2 separate regions of the Homo sapiens genome follow, and region 2 is linked to region 1. The links are contacts of gene promoters, found by promoter capture Hi-C in human tissues and cell types (Jung and others, 2019). All regions are on one chromosome and are shown on one strand. Each heading gives the region's core, a stretch centred on a gene start or on the middle of the fragment in contact. The rest is flanking DNA. Distances are from core to core; before and after follow the strand shown. Region 1 overlaps ZBTB40 (zinc finger and BTB domain containing 40). Region 2 holds the start of C1QB (complement C1q B chain).

The links. Contacts are between HindIII fragments. The study calls those that stand out against the background at their distance.
Region 2: a contact is called between the fragment with the promoter of C1QB here and a fragment that was not itself captured in region 1, in 3 of the 25 tissues and cell types used here (IMR-90 fibroblasts, mesendoderm cells and pancreas).

Annotation. Positions count from the first base shown.
Region 1 is chr1:22,493,164-22,499,978 of GRCh38, reverse strand. All of the region lies in intron 3 of ZBTB40 (zinc finger and BTB domain containing 40), which reads right to left. Among named protein-coding and RNA genes, the nearest start is that of ZBTB40, 45 kb to the right of the region's middle. The HindIII fragment of the contact is 5,344 bases long and covers 1,041-6,384 here.
Region 2 is chr1:22,650,774-22,657,588 of GRCh38, reverse strand. It overlaps C1QB (complement C1q B chain), which reads right to left and starts at 4,353. Exons shown (of 3, transcript NM_001378156.1): 1 at 4,286-4,353. The HindIII fragment of the contact is 7,433 bases long and covers 2,791-6,815 here.

The DNA of each region.
Region 1 (6,815 bases), core at 2,463-4,962:
TCTTTAGAGAGCAAAAGGTTAGTTTTCTACACACACACGTCTCCCCACCACACTAAAGGAGCTCATGAATACTGTATCAACACAGCAAAATTTAGCTAGACAGCTGTTATTACAAATTCTGGTAGTAAGTATATGTTTAAGATTTTTATTTAGAGAGATTTTATCTTTCTCCTCTCCTCCCAAATAGAAATTATAAACGAGTTAGACCTTGTGTTTCTTGGCTTTGCTTTAGCTTGCTTCCTAAGCACAGGATGTCTGTATAAAGCTAAATTAAACTTTAAAAGTTTCCTGTGTTTTTCAGTCATCTCCAAAAGTACACATAGACAAAACACAGTTTAATAATCCACATCAACATATCACTAGCGTAAGAAACTTCTGAGAACCTAAGGTAACTCATCTTGTATTTAAAAAATAATAAACAAAAAATGAAGACGTCAGTTGAAAGCTAAATTAAATCAACTTTTCATGCTTTTGTTAGTTGACTTGAAATCTCTTTAAAATGCCTTTTCACTGACAGCAGTAGGGAACCCAAGGCAGGCAGCATCTAAAATGGACCCTAATACCTGACTCTGGGTATTCATGCTGTTGGATTGAACCTCGTGACTTGCTTCTAAGAAGCAGAATATGGTAAAAGTTACAGGATGCTACTTTTGAGGTCAGGCTAGTTTGACTTCCATCTTGCCTGTGTTTTCTCTCTCTGCCCTTGCTCTGTGAGATGCAAGCTGCCATGTTGTGAGCTGCCCTACGGAGACACCCATGTGGCAAAGAACTGGTCTCCAGCCAACAGTCAGGGAGTAAGCTTGGAAGTGGATCTTCTGAAGCCTGCCAATAGCCATGAGAGTGGGCTTAGAAAAAGATACTCCCCCAGTTGAGCCTTGAGATGTAGCCCTGGCTGACACCTTGACTGCAGCCTGTAAGTGGCTGAGCCAGAGAATTCAGTTGAGCTCTACCTGGATTCCTGACCCACAGGAACTGTGGGAATAAATGTTTGTTGCTTGAAGTTGCTAGATTTTAGAGCAATTTGTGATACAGCACTGGATAACTAATACAGAGCCACTTGCTGCTAATACCCTCAGTAAACATGTTTCTTCCTTTTTATTTTCCCTTTCCTTCCTGCCTGCCTTTTGTGCATCTCAATTGATACAGCATATAGCTATCTCATTCTAGCCTAGGCCAGGCTTTTTTTTTTTTCCACCTGAAACTCTCCGAATATCCCAAATCCACATCTCTCAGTATCCAATTTGTCTGGCATTATCATTTGAGCCAGTGGGGAAGGGAAGCTTTCGTCAATGGTGGCATCTGATATGCTTCTCATTATCCTCTCTGCTGTCTCCCTCTCTGCAGAACTACTCAGCAGTGAAATTAAAACATTTGTTCACTTTGTTGCTCAACAGTGATGCTAGGGTGGCCATCTGGGAAGAGAAGCAGGGGTGGGCTGATGAAAGGGCCAGGAGAGGGCAGTTAGCTGCATGGACAGCCCTGCTCTCTCTGCTCTTTCTTTCAGAACCTACTGGGGACCTACACCAGTGCCAACACTACAGCAGTTACTCCATCAGCCCCCTAAAGCTGCCTAGGGCTCCGCAGTGGAAAAAGCAAGCAGGCCCTTTTCTGCAACAGTTTCTCTGCCTAAACAGAAGGGTATTAGGATATTAGGATAGGCAGGGATTCATCAATTACTATCATGTAACAGAACTCCAAAAGCTGAACCAAAACAGAGTTCTGTTGAAAGGGCTAAGTTCTTTAACCATACATTTGGAACTAACTCTTAATTCTCAGGGGTAAAGGTACTTCAATAAATTCATGTTAATAAGGTCACAGAAGTAATCTAAATACTTTACCTATGAGTGAAATATAGGTAAATATATTTCAAGATGAGACCATTTCTTTTCCCTCTATAAGTGAAAAACCATTTAATCTTTCCCTTAACTCAAGCCTTTTAACTGAGTTGACTTATTTACCCCAATTGTTCGTGTACTGCCTTCAGATCTGTTTGAGTTACACTATATTCTTGTTCACTCAGGCCTCCCTTGACTGCTGAGGGCTGGGTGATGGCAATAATGATAGAGACTACAATCGCTCCACATCATCCTGGACACCGTGCCATCTACCTTCTTCCTCACACCAGGCCTGGGAGGCGTTACTACTACTACTTTAGATGAACTTCAAAGAGGTTAAGTAACTTGCTTAAGGTCACAGGTCTAGTAAGTGGAGTAGCTGGCACCCCTTTCACCTAGTTCTACCTCCCAGATTTAAGCATAATCAAATCTATTTACACTGGGTTCTATTAGACTTACCAGAATCAATACCGGTTTGAATACTGGGTAGTATGTAGACAATCTGTATCACTTTTCTTGGTCTCAATGAATATAAAGACTGGTACATAGTAGGTGCTCAATAAATGTTTAATTGAATAAAATTCCCTTGCCATAAAACCATTAGCCCTTCTATCTATGGCTGCATATCTTAGGCTTAATCATTAACAGAAAGGAGATTTGGAAAAACAACTTATTTTCACCTTTCATAGACCTGTAAAACGAATCTCATTAACTCACTCTCAAGAGGGCTACCCAACCCTGTCAGTGAACAGAGCCCTCCAAACACAGATCTGCATTTGACAAACCTCCAAAGCAGCGACACGGCTGAAAACATCAGATTCACATAGGAGAAGAGATGTGTTTGCCTTTGAAATAAAGTTGAAGGAGAAAAAAATGCTACTAGGTCTTCAGCTTTGGGAGTCTTCTAGATTTTTAGGTGAAGAGTGGACCAAAAAGCACAGAAATCAATAGTAGAAAAATTATCTCCTTATTCTAGTTAAAGATCCACTTTGCTGTATACACAATTAATTAAAAGCAGAGACATGGCTAGGAATAAAGAAGGAAGACAATTTCAGCCTTCATCTTTCTCCCATGCTGGATGCTTCCTGCCCTCGAACATCAGGCTCCAAGTTCTTCAGCATTTGCATTCTTGGACTTACACCGGTGGTTTGCCAAGGGCTCTCCGGCCTTTGGCAAAAGACTGAAGGCTGCACTGCCGGTTTCCCTACTTTTGAGGTTTTGGGACTTGGACTGATCCACCACTGGCTTCCTTGCTCCTCAAGGTACAGACGGCCTATCGTGGGACTTTACCTTGTGACTGTGTGCCACCTACCATGGCTTTGGCCACTTTCTGTTGGATTGCACCTGAAGTTAGAGCAGCTGCTGCCATTTCTGTCACCATGAGGGCAAGCCTTTCTGAAAGTGGAAGCCACAGAGAGGAAGCATTGCTGAGAGACAGGGAGAAAGAACCCAGGTCCTGATGATGGTGTTGCCATACCTGCAGCCAGTCATGGCCAGAGCTATCTCTCCTTCTACACTATGAAGTCACAGGAGCCAACAAGTTAACTTTTTGCATAAGCCAGTTTGGACCAGTAGATTGCACACAGAAGGCGCTCAAAGGAATCCCAGAAGCCCAGCGCTGGAAAGGGCCCCACAATTCAGCTGGTCTGGTGTTCCTTGCGGTACGTGAATGGGTTTACAGCGTCCCCCTACAACTGTCTCTGATATTCCCATGCCTACCCTAACTTAGTTGTTTTATATCAATGTGGTGCCTCCCAGGCAACGTAGTGTCCTGGATGAGAACGGGATCTCTGATGCCTCCATGCTTCTGAGCACTACCTGGTCTGCAGGGACCATGGGTGGTGTCTGAATCCCCAGTGAAATTCCCTGAGCCTCACAGTCCCAGTGGGGCTTGTCTGTCACTGAGTTGCAAGCCACGCTCAATCCCTGGGGATGCTGAGTGCTGTTAATGGACACGTGATGCCAGCTAAATAAAAACAATTTTCAACCTCCAGAAAGTATCCCAGCCACTCACAAAATCATCCACTGTGTCTCATTGTATGCAGGTCTTGTTAGCTCCATGCTGTTCTCGATCTATAGCATCTCTGCTGCCTGCACGTCAGGAGGCAGACACATGTCAGAAAATACAGATGAGAGAACTGGAAAATGCCAGTGCCAGCGTCCTGTCCAACCCCTACCTTGCCTTTATTTGTTTGTTTTTACCCACATGAAAACTGGCACAAAGAGGCAAAACAACTTGCCTAAAGCCACAGAGCAAGTAAGTGGCAGTGTTGAAACTTGTTAGTGCTAATGTCCAGAAGAGTTAAATGATTCCTAAAACGTAAAAAAGGCTGGGTGCGGTGGCTCATGCCTGTAATCCCAGCACTTTGGGAGGCCAAGGCGGGTGGATGGATCACCTGAGGTCAGGAGTTCGAGACCAGCCTGAACAATATGGTGAAACCCCGTCTCTACTAAAAATACAAAAATTAGCCAGGCATGGGTGTGCGTGCCTGTAGTCCCAGCTACTCAGGAGGCTTAGGCAGGAGAACTGCTTGAACCCAGGAGGTGGAGGTTGCAGTGAACTGAGATTGCACCACTGCACTCCAGCCTGGGCAACAGAGCAAGATTCCGTCTCAAAAAAACAAAACAAAACAAAACAAAACAAAAAAAACCTAGCACAAAAACTGAAAAAAAGTATGAGTCTGGCTCTAAATAACAGTTTTACTCAGCTTAGCCAGAGGTCAGAAGTGACCTCTTAGGTCACTACTTGCTTTTCTAATGCGTAAGGGATATTACACTGATATAAAGACAGGCAGAAGACATGTTCCCATCCCAGCACCCAAGAGATTTCTCTTTAATAAGTTTTGGCTTTGATTTCTCACAATTCAAGTAGCCCAGCTTCTTCTCATGTTGCTGCAATCGCTGTTCAGGGAATGGCTTTGCCACCTTTCATCACTGATCTCAGGAAATAAAATAATCAGGACACTAGTTCATGGTGTCCTCCCTAAACTCAATCCTGCCCAGGTGCACACCTCACAGCTGTGTTTCAGAAACGGAATGACACATCCAGGAGTAGACTATTTTTAACGTTAAGCTGTTCTCAAGTTAAGATTAACTAAACAACAACCAATCACAGGATACCACTCAAAGCTCTTGGGGAGCTAAAAATGTATAAACAGAAAAACAAAATACCCCAAACTGTAAAATTGTACGGAAATGTGAAACAACGTTGTTCTAAGTGAACAGCTCTTAAATGCGCTCATTGCTGAAGCCTTATGGTGAAATCTGTAATTTGGCGACTCCTCTGCATACTTCCCCCAAAATAATCACACACGTGGCAGGATTTCTCTGCTGTCAAGATACTCTTTAAGGACAGGGATCAAGTCTTATTGAAGTTTCTCTGCCTAGCAAGCGGCTCAGTCTGGCACATATCAGTTGCTCAGTAAACATCTGCTAAATCAAAGGGTAAGCAAATGAGGAAAATGGGTATTCGGTGGCCTCTCATGCCACTGAAAGGTGCCAGCACAGACATTATGACATCTGCCATCACACACTAAGAGTTTTGTAAGCCATTCACTTCTCCAACTATGCTTCTCAAAATGTAGTCTACAGGTTCCAAAACAGCAACCCATGGGGGAGCCTGTTAAATATGTAGATTCTCAAGTTCTAACACAGCCTAAGAATCAGACACCATGGAAATGAGTTCTGGAGGTATACATTTTAACAAGCACCTCAGATGATTTTTCTATACATTGCTAGAGACTGATTGCTACGTACTAGACACTACCCCTGCAGTACAGGAAGCTACTTCCTCTAGACACTGTTCTAGAAAGTGATTGCTTCAGACTAGACACTGCCCTTGCAGTTTAGGAAGCTACTTCCAAGTGGATGGTGGTACCTATCTGAAAGCATGCCTTACAAATTAAGCTTAAAGTAACAGCAAACCATCTCGTGTCAGAGTAAATGGCCATGGCACCAGGATATTATAAGACATTCAGTGAAAAGGGGGTTTCAAGGTCTGTTAGGTCTAAAAATACTGAGTTAATGTAAAAACAAACAATAGCAGTTGTTACCTACTGACCTCCTACTGAGTGCCTGGCATTTTACTATGAGTTTTATATAAATAATCTTAATTCACAATGACCCCATGATGTAGGTGATAGTATCCCCTTTTTACAAACGAGGACACTGAGGCTTATAAAGATGAAGCTGCCTAAAGTCACAATGCTAGTAAATAGTAGAGGTGGATAAATGAATTGTATATCCACACAATGCATACAACTCAGCAATAAGAAGGAATGAACACACAACACTAGGGGCGTACCTCTGTAGAATTCACAGAAAAAGAAAAAAGGAAAAAAAAAAAAAAACATGGGTGAATCTCAAGATACTTACGCTCAATGAAAGCCAGACAAAAAATACACACCATATGACTCCATTTATACAATACTCTAGAAAATACAAACTTACGTACAGTGACCGAAAGCAGACCAGTGGTTACCCAGGGCATGGGTAAGTGGAAGGGGCAGGAGAGAGGGGTAGTACACAGGGACAAGAAGAAACTTTTGGGGGTGATGGAGATGTTTACCATCTTAACTGTGGTGATGGTTTCAGGGCATATACCAAAACTAATCACACTGTACACCATACCTAGCTACAGGTTACTGCATGTCAGTCATAGCTCAACAAGGCTGTCTGAAACAAAGTATGAGAGAGAGACAGAGAGAGAGAGAAGTAGAGGCCGAAGTACAAAGCAGCATCTCCCTAACTCTCTATTTAATCTTATATTCTTAAAGTATCTGTTCCCTTTTTCTTTCTGAAGTTCAAAGGTTATGGACTGTAACAGAATTGGCTTTAAAAACAGCCACCAAGTGATTTGCAGAGCTCCTACTCTGACCTCTAAAACTGAGGAAGAAATAACATAAGCCTATAATGATCACCAACAGCAAATCAGTGTTCTTTTGAAGTATATTAATGATATTGCCATCAAAAGATTAGAAC
Region 2 (6,815 bases), core at 3,104-5,603, 160 kb before region 1:
TTCCCCCAGCCCCTGACAACCATGAATCTGCTTTCTGTCCCTATGGATTTACCTATTCCTATTATTTCATATAAATGGAATTATACAACGTGTGACCTTTTGTGTCTGACTCATTTCATTTAGGGTAATGTTTTCAAGGTTCATCCATGTTTCTATGTTGTAGCATGTATCAGTACTTCATTCCTTTTTATAACTGAATAATACTCCATTGTATGGGTACATGTGATATTGCAAAGTATATATTTGGTCTTCTACCTCTTTCCTGGCAGACAACTCCTAAAATCCTTAGAATTTCCAAAGTGAGGTATTTTTGTATGCTAATGATTGATTGATGGCTGCCAGCCCCTAGGTAGCTTCAGGATGGGGCTCGTCACCAGGAAGACCAAGGCAGGCTTAGAGGGTCTACTCTCAGCCCCACCCCCCAACCTCTGGGGAGGGGAGTGGGGCTGAAGGTTAAATTGATTACCAATGGTCAATGGCTTAATCAATCGTGCCTACATAATAAAGCCTCCATAAAAATCCCAAAGAACTAGGTTTAGAGAGCTTCCAAATAGCTGAACACGAGGAGGTTCCTCGGGGGCAGCATGCCCAGGGACCTGGGCATGACAGTGGCACGCCTCTTCCCTCATACCTCACCCTGAGCATCTCATCTGTATCCTTTATAGTATTGTTTATAATAAACTTGTAAACGTGTTTCCCCGACTTCTGTGGGCCACTCTAGCAAAGAATCCAAACCCAAGCAGGGGGTTGTGAGAACCCCAACTTGAAGCTGATTGGTCAGAAGTTCTGGGGGCCTGGACTTGCAAATGGTGTCTGAGGGGGAGCAGTCTTGTGGGACTGAGCTCTCAGCCTGTGGGGTCTGATGCTATTCCTAGACAGTGTCAGAACTGAGTGGAAAGACACCCAGCAGATTTGATTGCTTGCTTGGTGTGTGGGGAGAAACCCCCCACATTTGGTCACAGAAGTCTTCTGTGTTGATTGTTGTGGTGTGAGAGCAGAGGAAAATACCGTTTGTGTCTTTCCACTTACAGACCTTCCACTTACACACTACAATTTGGTTTTGGGGTTTTTGGTTTTTTTTGAGATGGGGTCTCACTCTGTTGCCCAGGCTGGTCTCGAACTCTGGAGCTCAAGCCATCCTCCTGCCTCAGCCTCCTGAGTAGCTGGGATTACAGGCACGCACCATCTCGCTTGGCTATTTGTTTATCCACTCATCATTGGTGGACATTTGGGAAGTTTCCACCTTTTGGCTATTGTGAAGAGTGCTGCTATGAACATTTGTGAACAAGGATTTGAGTATCTGTTTTTAATTCTTTGGGGTTTATACCCAGGAGAGGAATTACCGCTTATGGCAATTCCATGTTTAAGTTCCTGAGGACCCTTCAGCCTATTCTTAAGTTTCCTCAATGACACCTCTGCCAAGGTCCCCCGTGTGGTGCCTCAACGCACTCCCCTGCTGCACAAACGTTGTGTTCACTCAGCCCTAAGAACTAATCACAACGCTAGCTGCACATCACATTATTTCCTTGGAAGAGTCAAGCTGAACTTTCTCAGCAGAGTGTGAGGAAATGACATCTCTGCCAAGGGCTCTTCCATCCATAGTTTGCACCGTTTCAGTGATGGGCAGCTCATTACCTCTCGAGGCAGCCCATTCCACCTTTGCCCAGATCCAAATGTTTTTTCTTCATTCGAAGCTTGGGTCAAAGCCTTCTTCCTCCAGGAAACCTTTCCTCAGAGGCTGAACTGTATCCTCTCTTAAAATGGGGGAGCAGAGTGGTCTCTGCCTACTTCCCAGAGTGGCCACAGGGACCCAGGTGAGACCATGGATGGGAAAGAGTCATAAAGCCTTGAGCCCCAAGCTCTCATTGGGACTTGTGGCTGCTACTGCTATTGCTGCTGTTCTCTGATCCTCTCAACACCCTGGGGAAGTGGGTTGTGATTAATTTCCCATCTTGCAGATGAGGAAACTGAGGATCGGAACTTAGAAAGCAACCTACCCAAAAATCACCCAGCAAACTATTCTAACAGCAGGGTTGTGGCCAAACTCCTACCCTCTCTGCCACATGCTGGCTGTCCCAACCCCAGAGTCTGGCATGTGGAGGGCTCCCTGGGACCAGACAAGGCCTACTGATATTTGGCTCCTATGCTCTGCAAACCAGCCTCAGCCCCTCAGCCTAGTCCTGATCAATTTCTTGCTGAAAGCCCTGAGTTATGCCAGACACTGTGCACCAAGGAAAGGAAGCTGTAAAGATGAGTGTGGCCAGGGAATGCTGGTGACAGCTTTAGGTTCTGTCAGGCTCTATGCTCTGAAGACAGGGTGGCTCAGGGGCATGGTCCTGCTTATCCATGAATAAGCATCAGCTCTCACTCTTGCTCTTGCTAAAGGTTTTACAAAATGGCAATTTAACAACTTTAATAAGTTGGGTACGTATAGGCCAGGCTCTGAGCCAGATGGCTTGCATGCCATTATCCCCTGTAATTTGATATTCAGCCCCTGAGAATGCACTCTTGCTTTCTTATTTTACAGATGAGGCAACGGGATCAGAGAGGGCAAGCACCTTGATAAAAGTCACACAGCTCCTGTGTGGCTGGGAGTCAAACCCACATCCACTGGATCTTAAAACTCAATGTTATGTTAAGAGGCCACTGTACCTGGTGGTAAAAACATAAACTTTGAAGCCAGACAGCCTGATAAAAGGACTAATGCATGGGACACACCAAGGGTAGTGGTAGGCACATGGTCAGTGTTCGGTGAAAGTGGCTTTTTACCACCACGATGATTGCTGCTCTTGTTAGGCAGCACACATTCACCTGGTGGCGGGAGCCTGTAGTGTCACAAGGAAAGCAACACTCAGCGTTCACATAAGGTCTCTACTGCTTCTTAGCTAAGGGACTTGGGAAATCACTCCTTCTCTCTGGCCACAGTTTACCCTCCTATAAAGTGGGGATAATGCTACTCTCTCCCTCATAGGGTATGTGCGAGGACATGAGTTACAGCTTCCAACAGAGCCTGGCATGTTGGAAATTCTTAATGAATATTAGCTATTTTATTATTATCACTGTCATCCAAGAATTCCTGAGTGGTTGAACAGAAGGGAAGATGGTTGGAGAAGTAAAAAAAGACAATCCCTTTGAAAGACTGTGTTTAGAGGGAGGGGCTCTGTCAGTTGGAGGCAGCAAGGGGTGGAGAGCTGTGACCAGTTGGTGGGGAGAGAGGGTGGGGAGCAGGGTACTGACAGGACTTGGGCTTCCTGGGGAAGCCAGGGGCAGGGGGAGTGGGAAAGTGCTGGTTCTAGCCCATTTCAAAAGCCACCGAGTTTCAGCCTTGGGTTAGGGCTTACAACTCATCTGGTTTAACTGCCTCCTGCCTGTGCCAGCCCATCATCATTGCCAGCGCGGTTTCTCCTGTCCTCCCCCCAGGCTCTGACCTTTCCATCTCCTTCGGTCCAGCAGTCCCTTTCCGCAACATGGAGTCAGGCCCACTTGACTTTAAAGCCCCATCTGCTACCGGCTGCATAACCTCAGGCAAGTGCCTTAACCTCTCTGAGCCTCTTGGCAATGCTGATTTCAACCTGACAGGGCTGCCAGAAGGATGACAGGAGAAGGCGCTTAGAAGAAATAAGGTCCCCCCTGCCCCGTGCAGTGCCACATCCCACTCCCCAGCTGCACAAACATTGCGCTCACTCAGTACTAGCTGAGAACTCATCGTAACTCTACCTGCACATCCCCTTATTTCTTTGGAAGAGTCAAGCTGAGCTTTCTCAGCGAGTATGAGGAAATAAGCAAGGTGTTGGGGAAATGCTGGGCCGGGCAGGAGCGACTGGCTTATAATCCCACTCCTGCCTCTGGTTTACTGATAAATTTTGAGCCAGGGCATGCACTAAGCTTTTGCAAGCTTGATCTCCTGTAAGGCACAGCAGTGCTGAAAGATTCTGTTCTCTGTAGGGGGGCCGGGCTGAGAGAGGTTAGGTGACTTGCCCAAGATAACCAATACATAAGGTGCAGAGCCAGACTCAGCTCAAGTCTCTGCGATGCCAAAGCTCCTATGTGCCAGGCTCCCGCTTTAGGTGGCCTGCCCATCCGCTAGGCCCTGGGTAGCAGCAGACTCCCCAACTCACCCCAGAGATCTGGGTCCCATAGGTCTGGGATTGGGCCCAGCTACCTGCACTGTTAAACAGCCTAACTGGCTCCGAGGCAGGTGACGCAAAGCTCACACTTACGGAATCACCACTTTCTGCCATATTGGCCCTGCCAGCCTCCCCCAGGCGCCAAGCCCCGTCCTCACCTGGGAAGCTGGTGTCCTGTGAGGCCACTGGGCTGAGCAGCAGTGGGACCAGGAGCCGAGAGCCTACTGCCCTCGGTCCGAAGCGGAAGTTCCCTTCCCCAGAGGCGGGAAGGGCTTTCCCCTGACGGTCCCCTCCCATGGACCAGCAGGCTGGCCCCTTTCCCGTCCCCTCACTGTCCCCCCACCCTGCTGCCCTCAGGCAGTTTCAGGTCCTATTTCTGCAACCCACTGGATTTACTGTAAATGAGACGGGTGGGTGGCAAGTTTGGTTCTGCCAACTCAGCAGCTGTGGGGAGAACACGCTGTCCTGGGGGAACATCCACAGCTCACCCTCCCAGGCTCTCTGACCTCGTGATCTTCTTCTACACTGGGCAGGGGTGTTCCTCAGTGAGCATCATGTGGCGGGCCCGCTGCCTGAGTGCTGGCTTACAGTCAGAGCCTTTGATTCCAATCCCGCCTCTGCCACTTGCCAGTTGATGTGTTGTCAGTCAAGGGAGCCCCAATTTTCTCTGCTATAGGATGGGACCATAATTGTACCTGCTCTACAGATACAGATCTCACAGGCCACTGGGAGGATAATGGAGGAAATGATGGGGGAGGAAGTGTCTGGGGGTAAACTGTAAAGGGCTGTGCACGTGTTCATTGTTAATATCACTTCATGTCCCAGGCTTCCCCTTTCTGGGCTCATCTCTTCTGCTTCCTTCCCATTCTGTGCCCCTGCTCTTTCCCTGTTCTCAGAAAATAATCTCATAATGAATTTTAAATGTGTTCATTATTTATTGATACCCCTCCCTCTGCTTCCAGCAGGGCTGGACGCTGATGACAATAATAGGCCCAGGCAGGGGCCTGTTGCTTCTTCTCGATCCTGGAATCACGCCAAGTTAGGGCCGGAGAGGGGCTGAGGTTACTCGGCCCATCCTCCTCATTTTATATACGAGGAAACTGAGGCCCAGAGGGGAGACCCACCATTTAACAAATATTTAGTGTTTGCTTCCATGTGCACTGAAGAGAGAGCTCTTAGCAAATCAGCCATGGTCCCTGCCCCCATGGGGCCTCCCTTCTACGGGGGGAGACTGGTGTTAAACACGGAATGACATGAGGCTTCATTGCTTCTGTGATAAATGTCACAGAAAGACGTGACTGCTGGGGCCGATGCCTCATGGAGGTGGCAGATGCAGACCTGGAAGCCGGCATCCCTGGCACTAGGATATCAGTCTCTCCCTGTGGCTGCGTCTCAGACGACATGATGACTAGCAAGCACCAGGAGCTGGAGGCCCTCTTGACATCTGTGCTTGGAGATGGAAATTCACTGGGCTTGTGGATGCAGCTTGGTGGAAATTAAGTGTTAACTGCAATGGGTGAACAGGAGGGAAAGATAAGTTTGATAAAACCAAAAGGTCTCTGAGCTCAGTCAACTATAGTCCCGAAGGGACCCAGGCTAGGGTGAAGAGAAGAAACACTGGATTCCACAAAGGGAGAAACGAGTTAGTAGGTTGCAAGTTGAGGGCTTCTGAGCATTCCCAAAGCCGAGTGGCTCTGGGCCTCTAGTTCTTTTTTTTTTTTTTTTTCTTGAGATGGAGTCTCAGTCTGTTGCTCAGGCTGGAGTGCAGTGGTGCGACCTCAGCTCACTAGAACCTCTTCCTCCCAAGTTCAAGCGATTCTCCTGCCTCAGCCTCCCAGGTAGCTGGGACTACAGGTGCATGCCACCAAGCCCAGCTAATTTTTGTATTTTTTTTTAGTAGATACAGGGTTTCACCATGTTGGCCAGGCCGGTCTCAAACTCCTGACCTCAAGTTGATCTGCCTGCCTCGGCCTCCCAAAGTGCTGGGATTACAGGCGTGAGCCACCATGCCCAGCCTCTGGGCCTCTAATTCTTAGGTGGCTAAGGGCAATGGGAAAAGATGGATGTCAATTTGGGGTAGAAGCAGTGAGGCTAAGAACAGGAAGCAGCAGAGGTGGGTTAGGAGCACGGACTTTGGCAGTTTGAATCCCAGCTCTTCGTCTTGCTAACTATGTGGCCACGGGAATGTTTACTGGCCTCAGTTTCCTCGTGTAGAAATGGGAAGCATGAACGCCTATCTCCTGGGGCTGTTTTGGGGGCCAGCGAGGTCCCCCTGCCATGTCCAGGGCCAGGTGAGTGCCCAGCCCTTGGTGGGCACCCACTGCAAACATGGGAACGGTATTACTTATATGAAGAGAAGATGGAATTCTTGGAACCCAGGAGCAAAGAAGCCATGCCTGGATTAGGAGGAGGCCTGGACTTGGGGATCAGGAGCTGAGGGGTCCCTGGGCCTTGACCGCTAATGGGAGCCAGCTGGTCTCTGTACCTACAAAATTTTGGACTCACATCCCTGATTGAGAGTGGAAAATCCCTGATCCCTGCAAAGAGTGGAAAAAGAAACCTACACCCCCTCACCTTCCTGTGGTTGGAAAGGGGTTCCTTGCAGCTTGGGGTGTCTTGTCCTGGCTCCTGCCCCACGTCCACCCCTCCTTGCCTGCCCCACTGAAAAACTCTCCCCCGCCTCCCCTC